Regions from separate parts of the Homo sapiens genome. Here region 1 is linked to region 2. Evidence: promoter capture Hi-C in human tissues and cell types (Jung and others, 2019). All regions are on one chromosome and are shown on one strand. The core of a region is centred on a gene start or on the middle of the fragment in contact, and the rest is flanking DNA. Distances in the headings are between cores, read along the strand shown. Region 1 overlaps LOC105375856 (a long non-coding RNA gene). Region 2 holds the start of FAM110B (family with sequence similarity 110 member B).

The links. The method cuts DNA at HindIII sites, captures the fragments that hold promoters and counts their contacts. A contact is called where the count stands out against the background at its distance.
Region 1: a fragment that was not itself captured here is called in contact with the fragment with the promoter of FAM110B in region 2 in 1 of the 25 tissues and cell types used here (bladder).

The regions. Positions count from the first base shown.
Region 1 is chr8:57,944,857-57,949,251 of GRCh38, forward strand. All of the region lies in intron 2 of LOC105375856 (a long non-coding RNA gene), which reads left to right. Among named protein-coding and RNA genes, the nearest start is that of LINC01602, 31 kb to the right of the region's middle. The HindIII fragment of the contact is 3,076 bases long and covers 1-2,971 here.
Region 2 is chr8:57,991,340-57,996,202 of GRCh38, forward strand. FAM110B (family with sequence similarity 110 member B) reads left to right here and starts at 3,184. Exons shown (of 4, transcript NM_001377989.1): 1 at 3,184-3,467. RefSeq lists silencers at 3,511-3,560, 3,581-3,630 and an enhancer at 3,635-4,135. The HindIII fragment of the contact is 16,250 bases long and covers 1-4,863 here.

The DNA.
Region 1 (4,395 bases), core at 184-2,683, 48 kb before region 2:
AAGTAATTATATATAGTGTTAGTAAAAAAAAATTAAAATAAAAGTGACATTTCTTCGTTAAGAAAAAGTCATGTCAGGCCGGGCACGGTGGCTCACACCTATAATCCCCACACTTTGGGAGGCTGAGGCGGGTAGATCACCTGAGCTCAGGAGTTCGAGACCAGCCTGACCAACATGGAGAAACCATGTCTCTACTAAAAATACAAAATTAACTGGGCGTGGTGATGCATGCCTGTAATCCCAGCTACTCGGAAGGCTGAGGCAGGAGAATCACTTGAACCCAGGAGGCAGAGGTTGTGGTGAGCCCAGATCATGCCATTGCACTCCAGCCTGGGCAACAAGAATGAGACTCCATCTCTAAATAAATAAATAAATATAAAAAGTCATGTCAGGCTGGTGGTGGTGGCTCCTTCCTGTAGTCCCAGCACTTTAGGAGGCCCTTGGGCAGCTCACTTGAGGCCACGGGTTTGAGACCAGCCTGGCAAACACAGTGAAACCCTGTCTCTACTAAAAATACAAAAAGAAGTTGAGTGTGGTGGTGGGCACTTGTAATCCCAGCTACTTGGGAGGCTGAGGCAGCAGCAGCACTTGAACTCAGGAGGTGAAGTTTGCAATGAGGTGAGATCACACTACTGCACTCCAGCCTGGGTGACAGAGTGAGACTCCATCTCAAAAAAAAAAAAAGAAAACAAACGTCATGTCATTTTCATAATTTTCCCGTTTTCTCATGGGTTCAAGGACAGGCTTATTTACCTCTTAATCACCTACCAAACCCAGTACCCCCAATAGTATTTGGTGAATTGAATAGAAATGTTACATTTGCTCTGGTTATTATTCCCACGTAGACAGCCTAAACTGCTTTCCCTTAATAATAATTTAGGTCTCAATTTCATTCAGTTCTGCTCTGATTTTAGTTATTTTTTTTCTTCTGCTAGCTTTCAGGTGAGTTTGTTCTTGTTTTTCTAGTTCCTCTAGCTATGATATTAGATCATTAATTTGAGATCTTTCTAACTTTTTGAGGTAGACATTTAATGCTCTAAACTTTGCTCTTAACACTGCTTTTGGGGCATCCCAGAGACTTCGGTATGTTGTGTCTCTGGATTTATTTCAAATAATTTTTTATTTCTCCCTTAATTTCATTGTTTATCCAAAAGACATTTAGAAGCAAGTTAATTTCCATGTAACTGTGTGGTTTTGAGAAATCTTCTGGTATTGACATCTACTTTTATTCCACGTGGTCTGCAATTATGGGTGGTATGATTTTGATTTTTATGAATGTATTGGGACTCCTTATGGCTGAGCATGTGGTTGATCTTGGAGTATGTTTTATGTGCAGTTGAGAAGAATGTGTATTCTGTGGTTGATGGGTAGAGTATTCTGCAGATGTCTATTAGGTCCAATTGGTCAAGAATTGAATTTATGTCCAGAATTTCTTTGATAGTTTTCTGCCTCTATGATCTGTATAATGCTGTCAGTGGGGTATTGAAGTCCTCTACTATTATTGTGTGGCTGTCTAGTCTTTTTTAGGCCTGAAAGTAGTTGTTTTATGAATCTGAGTGCTCCAATGTTGGGTGTGTATGTATTTAGAATAGTTTAGTCTTCTTGTTGAATTGAGCCCTTTGTCATTATGTAATGCCCTTCTTTGTCCTTTTTTACTATTGTTGGCTTAAAGTCTGTTTTATGTGATGTAAGAATAGTGAACCCTACTCTTTTTAGCTCCATTTGCATGATAGATCTTTCTCCAACCCTTTACTTCGAGCCTATGGGTGTAAGATGCGTCTCTTGAGGATAACAAACAGATCTGTGCCTTTTGTTGGCATTTAGACCATTTACAGTCCAGGTTAACATTGATATGGGAGGTTTTGATTCCATGGTGAAGCTGTTGGCTGCTTGCTTTGTAGTTCCTATTGTGTGATTGCTTTACAGGCTCCAGGGGCTATGTACTTATGTGCATTTTTATGGTAACAGGTATCGTTCTTTTGATTCCATGTTTTGAATTCCCTTAAGCATCTCTTGTAAGGCTGGTCTGGTTGTAATAAAGTCTCTTAGTGATTTCTTGTCAGGAAAATATTTTATTTATCTACTTATGAAGCTTAGTTTGGCATGATATAAAATTCTTGGTTGAAATTTATTTTCTTTTAGATTGCTGAAAATAGGCGCCCAAGGTCTCCTGGCTTGTACGGTTTCTGCTGAAAAGTACTCTGTTAGCCTCCTAGAGTTCCCTTTGAACATAATCTGACCTTTTTTTCTAGCTACCTTTAAGGGTTTTTTTGTTTTTTTGTTTGTGTGTGTGTGTGTATGTGTGTGTTGACCTTGGACAGTCTGGTGACTACATACCTTGGTGATGTTCATTTGTATAGTATCTCATGGGTGTTTTCTGGTTTCTTGTATCTGGATGTCTACCTCTAGCAAGATTCGGGAAATTTTCTTGAATTATTCCCACAAATATGTTTCCAGGTTGTTTACATTTTCTCTTTCTCTCCAAGAATGCCAATAATTCATAGGTTTGATTGCTTTACATAATCCCATATTTCTCAAGACTTTATTTTAAAAAATTATTATTATTATTATTATTATTTGTTGTTGTTGTTGGACTGGGTTAGTTTGAAGGTCTGGTGTTCCATCTCTGAAACACTTTCTTTTGCTTATTCTAGTCTACTGATAAAGCTTTCAATTGTATTCTGAAATTCCTTAAGTGAGTTTTTCAATTCCAGAAGCCCTGACTGATTTCTTCCTTCACTTCCTGAATTGCTTTAGAAGTTTCTTTGTGTTGATTTCAACCTTGTCTTGGAGCTTGTTGAGCTTCCTTGCAATCCGTGCTTTGAATTCTTTATCTGTCACTTCTGAGTTTCCATTTTGTTTAGAGACCATTGCTGGAGAACTAGTGTGATCCTTCAATGGTGTCACTACATTCATATTTTTTATGGTGCCAGAATTCTTGTGCTGGTTCTTTTTTATCTGGAGATGCTGGCAGTTCGAGTTTTTGTAATTATTTTTCTACTGGTAGGATTTTTTCTCCTTATTTCTTTCCTTATTATATTATTGGGATTTTTTCTTTCCCTTTCCTTTTCCCCACCTCCCTAGGGGGTGGAACTGTAAAGAATGTTGGGTAGGGTCTTTTGGCTTTGCTTCTCTAGCCCTATGCACTTCTTTTGGCATGTTTCATACTGGGATGTGTGATTTGGCCTACAGGCTAGTAGATGACACTTACGGGTAGGAGTTGGCTGTGGCCAATGTCGCTGGGTGTATACTTGATCCTTGTTTACTGGGAGAAGCTTTCTGTTGCCTTGGGCAATGGGCTGATCCAAGGAATGCACAGCAGTCTGAGCTCCCTGCTCAGCTCCAGAGGGAGAGGGAGGGAAGACGAGTGAGGAGGCCCACCTACAGGTCCCCCAGTGGCAGGTACAAGCATGAGTATGGAAGAAGAATCCAGTGGGAAGCCACCTAGCACCCAGAAGTATACCTAAGCCTGGAAATGGAAAACCTCCATGGCCCCAAAGAGGCAGGGGTGGAGGTGGGGCCTAAACTCCTAATCCAGGAGAGTGAATGTTCCAGATGCCTGAAGATCTGCCTGGCCATGGGGAGGAAAAGGCCCTGCTGTATCACAGTGTCTGAACAAGAAAGGTGGGGTGGCTCAGGCTGCTGAACCAGGCAAGTGGGTGTTCCAAATGTCTGGGGATCTGCCTGGGCATGGAGCAGAGAGGGCCCCCCTCCACCAGGATCTCTGCACAGCAAGACTGAGGCAGCTCAGGCTGCTGAACCAGGCAAGCAGATGCTCCAAATGCCCAGAGATCTGTTTAGGTGATGGGATCATTCATACTCCAAACCTCAGCATCACACAATATACCCATGTAACAAACCTGCACACATGCCCCCTGAATCTAAAATACAAATTGAAAATATAAAAATAAAAGAATTTAGAACCTTCTCAATCCATGCTCTTACTCTGGGCCTCCCCTGTTTTCCTCCACAGTCACCAAGCTTCATAGTTCTGCCAGATGTGTTCATAGAAAACTAGAGCTGGACCGTCATTAAACCAGTAAAAAAGGATTTTATTCAGGGACTGTCATTACAAGGGAAAAGAGGCTTCTGTAAAGAACAGGGCTCAATTCTGAATACAACAAGGAAAAGTGCAATTTATAGCCGAGGAGCAGGGTGGGGGTCAGTAAACAGAAAATTACTAAGAAGGGCCGGGCACAAAGGCTCATGCCTGTAATCCCAACACTTTGGGAGGCCGAAAGTGGGTGGATCAACTGAGGTCAGGAGTTTAAGACCGGCCTGGACAACATGGTAAAACCTCGTCTCCACTAAAAATACAAAAAATTAGCCGGGCGTGGTGGCACATGCCTGTAATCCCAGCGACTCGGGAGTCTTAGGCAGGAAAAATCACTTGAA
Region 2 (4,863 bases), core at 1,934-4,433:
TCCCTCAACCTAGAGACCTGGCATTAGTTGGGAGTACTGCAGGTGATTGTGTTTCGTGGTCTGAAAACCGCTGATGTATGCCAGGATTTCAGGGGGAGCTCTGGACAGACAGGGTGGTCTGACTGACCCTGGGTTAATTGAGGGACTGCTGTACCACTCTTAGGCAAGAAAATGGGTACAAGCATCCCACTGATCCAATACAGGCATGCTGGGGGTACTCTGGATATTTGACTGACATTTTCCCTGGCATAGCCAATCATTAGAACAAGTGCCACTTGGAGCGGGGACTGGATTCCAGAACTCTTTATTTTTTTACTTTTCCTCTGAAGCTGCTTTGGTTGTTTTGTTTTCAGAGATGCTCTCCTTTTGTGAGGCTTGCATCTGTTTATAATATGTTATTATTCAGCTTACGGGCTTTTATACATTTAAAGTTTCCCTAGTTGTTGACACAACTTAGGTACGTACCCATCTGGAGAAAGACTAGTGAAAACTCTGAGCTCATGTCTTTTCAAGCTCACATTTTCCCGTAAGAAACCATTTTGGCAGTCAGAGGATTAGAGCTAATAACTGCATGTCCCTAGGCTCCCTGCTTGCTAGGAATAGTCCCACTGTCCAGAGTCACCTGTGAATAATGGTTAAATTACATTCTGATTCGTGTATGGATGCTTGTTTGGGTACTAGTCAAATATTGTTACATACTTTTAGAGACAGAAACCTCTGTGAAACAAAAGAATTCCAAGCCTAGGATAATGGCCCACTTCTGAAGAATAAACAACACAATAAAATTCTAGTACAAACAACTAATTTCAACATTCTCTGAAAATCTGTAGCAGTCCTTAACATTTTCAGTCCCCAAAACAAGAAAACTATGTCCTAAATCAGCAAACATTAGGGATTATGAGAGCAGTTTTATTGGCATAATTGATAAGACAATATTTACTGAAATATTCCAGCATAGATGTTTTACTGTGTTCTCTCTGTCTCTTTAACCACATCTTTTATTGGTTTTTGGTTTTGGTGATGACAATTTGGGGCTATTAAATCTACACTGGGCAATAGTAAAACCCTAAATGAGAACCTTAATAATAAGAGTTAGGGGTCCTACTAAGTGAACTCCTTGGCATATACTTTATTATCAAGAAGTAGTTTAGGCAATAGAAAAGCTAAAACTTGGTCGGCGCAGTGGCTCACGTCTGTAATCCCAGAACTTTGGGCGCCTGAGGCAGGTGGATCACCTGAGGTCACGAGTTCCAGGCTAGCCTGGCCAACATGGCAAAATCCCGTCTCTACTAAAAATACAAAAATTAGCTGGGCGTGGTGGCCCGTGCCTATAATCTTAGCTACTCGGGAGGCTGAGGCAGGAGAATTGCTGAACCCAGGAGGTGGAGGTTGCAGTGAGTGGAGATCATGCCACTGCACTCCAGCCTGGGTGACAGAGTGAGACTCTGTCATCAAAAAAAAAAAAAAAAAAAAAAAGAAAGAAAGCTAAAACTCATTGGTTACATTCCTGATTTTCAAAGCATCGATCATAGGGGAATCTTTTATGATTTTATAAGTGAGTCTTCTGGAAAGAAACTTAACTCAAAATGGCATAAGCAAGAAAGACAATTTATTGGTGCATTACTTCAGAAGTTCAGGATTTGACTGGTTTTAGAGGTGACTGTCTTCGGATGGCCATTGATGTCATCAGGGCACTTTTCTGTCTCCATTGCTCAGTTTGGCTTTTTTTCTGGTTTTGTTTTATTCTCCAGTAAGTTGACTCCAGCTGCTGCACGCATATATGATATGGTCCCAGGAGCTGCCCTGTCAGTCAGGGAAAGGACCCTCCTCCTTTGTTCTCAGACGATATTCTAATTGGCTGGCCTGGGTCATATCCCTCACAATGTCAGGAAGCTCTGTGGGCTAGTCACACCCAATGGGAGGGGGAAATTCCTAAAAGGAAGGGATTGGGGCAAAGAAGTGGGGAAAAAAAGTATACTTGAGAGGGAGAGAAGTTGGTTCCATTTGCTATGGGAATGATGAAAAATAGTTTATTTCTATTGTTATATGACTTTTGGAGTTAATGGAGACCACAACGTAATCTGTGATAACAAGGAATGTATTAGTATGCCAAAGGAAAGTTCCATTTAAATCCCAGTATCATGTCACTTTCTTAAAATGGTAATCTTTAAATAGAAAAAAAATATATTATTATAAAGTCTGAGTTTTATTTAGTTGGCAACTTCTTAACTATTATGAAACAATAGATTCATTGAATTGAAGCACAATTCAAATATAAACGATCTTTCTGAGAAAATGAGATGAGTGAAATCGTATTGTTAATGTACCAGAGATTAAAAAGAAATCCTTGCTCAATATTTTCTAGAAGAAACAATTATTTTGTGAGTCCATATCCCATTCAAATTCATTTTGATAAAGATGGATTTTATCTTTTAGACTTCCCAATAGCAAAATTAAATTACAATGTGTTTAGTCTTCCTAAAACAAATCCTCTCCTGAAACAACCAAGTTATTAAGCAAATCTAAGCAGAAAGTATTCTCAAATACTATATTAGGCGATTAATAATGACGCACCCCAAAGCATTTCATTTTAAAACATCAGCTGGCCCACATTTCAGAGGTAGTACATCATGCTTGATATTTTTCGTTATTTACTATTTTCTCCAAACATTTTTTTGAAGTCTTAAAAATGCCTTCAGAAATTAAGCTAGGACGCTCCATCTGAGTATATGAAAGTTAGTAAACAGAAAATGTCAAGCACCAAGACGTTTGGATGGCTGGACTACCAGGTGGGGTTATCTCATTCAGGGCACAGGCTCTACGTCTCCAGTGCTGAGCGATCTGCACTGGGGTGGCAGTCCGAGATCCAGCGGTATCACCGGGTGGGAGCAGGGTGGGGGTGCTTGCGTGCGGACATAGGTGGGAGTGGGGGATAGGGAGGAAATGGAGGCGCCGACCGAGTGGAATGGGGGGTGGGTCAGGGATGGGGTGGGATGGGCATCAGTAGCGGGGTGGAGATGTTGAGAGAGAGGCAGGGCTTGGAGTGGAGGTGCGAGAAGGGTGGGGACCCGGAAGGTGGGGTGGGGGCGGGATGGAGGCGGGGCGGGGTGTACGAGGGGCGTGTACACTGGCTCAGGGACACGCGCTCTCGGCCACAGCAACTGGCTCCAAGTTCCCTCCCTCACTCTCCGGCGAAGCCTGCCTGAGCCCTCCCACTCGGTGCAGACCGAACCATCGCGGCCGCCGCCAGCCGGGCCCTTCGCGGCCGCGCGTCCTGGGCCCGTTCCGCCAGCCCCGTCTGCTCTCTACCCGCGGCCCCGCGGCGGCGACCGTGAACACTCGGCGGCCCCTACAGCCCGCTCTCGGCCCTTCGTCCCTCGCGGGCCCCGACTCTCCCTCCTTGCAGTCCCCCGGAGCCTGGCTCCCGGCTCGGGCCGCACCGCCAGGGACTGGGGTGAGCGGCCCAGGTAAGACTGGGCCGTGGGGGCCGGGAGAGAGACTGCTGGGCGGGGGTTGGGATTCGGGTTCAGTGGTCGCGCCGCGCCCCGACTGCGGACAATGCGGGAGCTGCGCGCGGCCAGGCGGCGCGGAGCTAAGCCGGCTCTGCGCCTGCAGCTTCCCCGCCCGGCCCGGGTCTCCGTTGAGCCCGGCCTCACTGGCCCAGGCGGACCCCGTCCGGCTTTCTGGGCTGCCGGGGGAGGCGCAGCGCCGCTGCCTGCCCCGCGCCCCCTCTGCGCTCGGCTTGGCTGCACGTCCCGGGCTCGGCTAGGAGGCTGGGCACGGGGCCGGGGCTGGAGCCGGGGTTGGAGCCAGGGCGGGGGGAAGCTGGCCGCGCTGCGGAGCGGAGGTGGGCTCCGAAAGCGCGCCGCCGGTTGCTGCTGGAGGAGTGGGACTACGAAGGATGGGGACTCCGCTCGGCCACCGCTCCTGAATGGTCTCTAATCTCGGTGTTAAATACTTTATGAGAGTATCAATACCACCTAATCCTTTGCTGAGAATTACTGCTAGAAATGTAGATTCTGAGGTTCCGAAAGTTTGTTTTTGGTTACCCCCTCCAGCTCCTCCCGTGGCCTCAATTGTCTCTATTTTCTTTGAAAGCATACAGATTTGAAATAGAATTAAATTCTCCTTGGCTCACTCGTGTCTCCATCACCCAGCGGAGCTCATAACTTGGCAACAAAGCCCATACAGGCTGTGGGAAGCCGCGATGCCTGCTGCCCAGCCTGGTGCCCTCCTATTGTTTAGAGCTGGAGCTGTACAGTGTAAATGGCAGTGACAGGTCTCCCTTAAGCTGGCTCGTGGGGAAGGAAGGGAGATAACTTTGCAGTGTGCTTAAATTACTCTGGAAAGTGGAAAGAAAACACCTGGTGCTCAGCTTTTTAACCCTTTCAAGTTGTTATTCAGATTTATTGACACACACACACAGAAAAGTGCAGGCTTTCTTTCCTGCCTAAAAAATAGGCAACCTCTGTGTTCTTCCTCACAGCCAACTTATGTCCTCTGCAAAATCTGGCACACATCTGTGACAACATTGCACTTCTGGCGTAACTGGTCTATTTCTCAAAAGGGAATATGATAGTAGAATAAGCATTTTTGCAGTATGGATAGTAGGACTTCCATTTTCTTCGTTTCCTTTGTTGGTGAAGAAGGTATTTATTATTTTCCCCCCAGTTTACACGTAGTGATTTCTGGGAAGATACTTGTATTAATTTCTTGTACTCATTTTTGTGACATCACAACCCCTGGTCATTCAGGTAAGCTATTTATTAAGCATAGTTATTCTAGAATAAAGGTGAGTTAATGGTAAACTAGAATCCTTCACTGATAACATCCCATTGGTTTACCCTACGGTATTTAATCTGT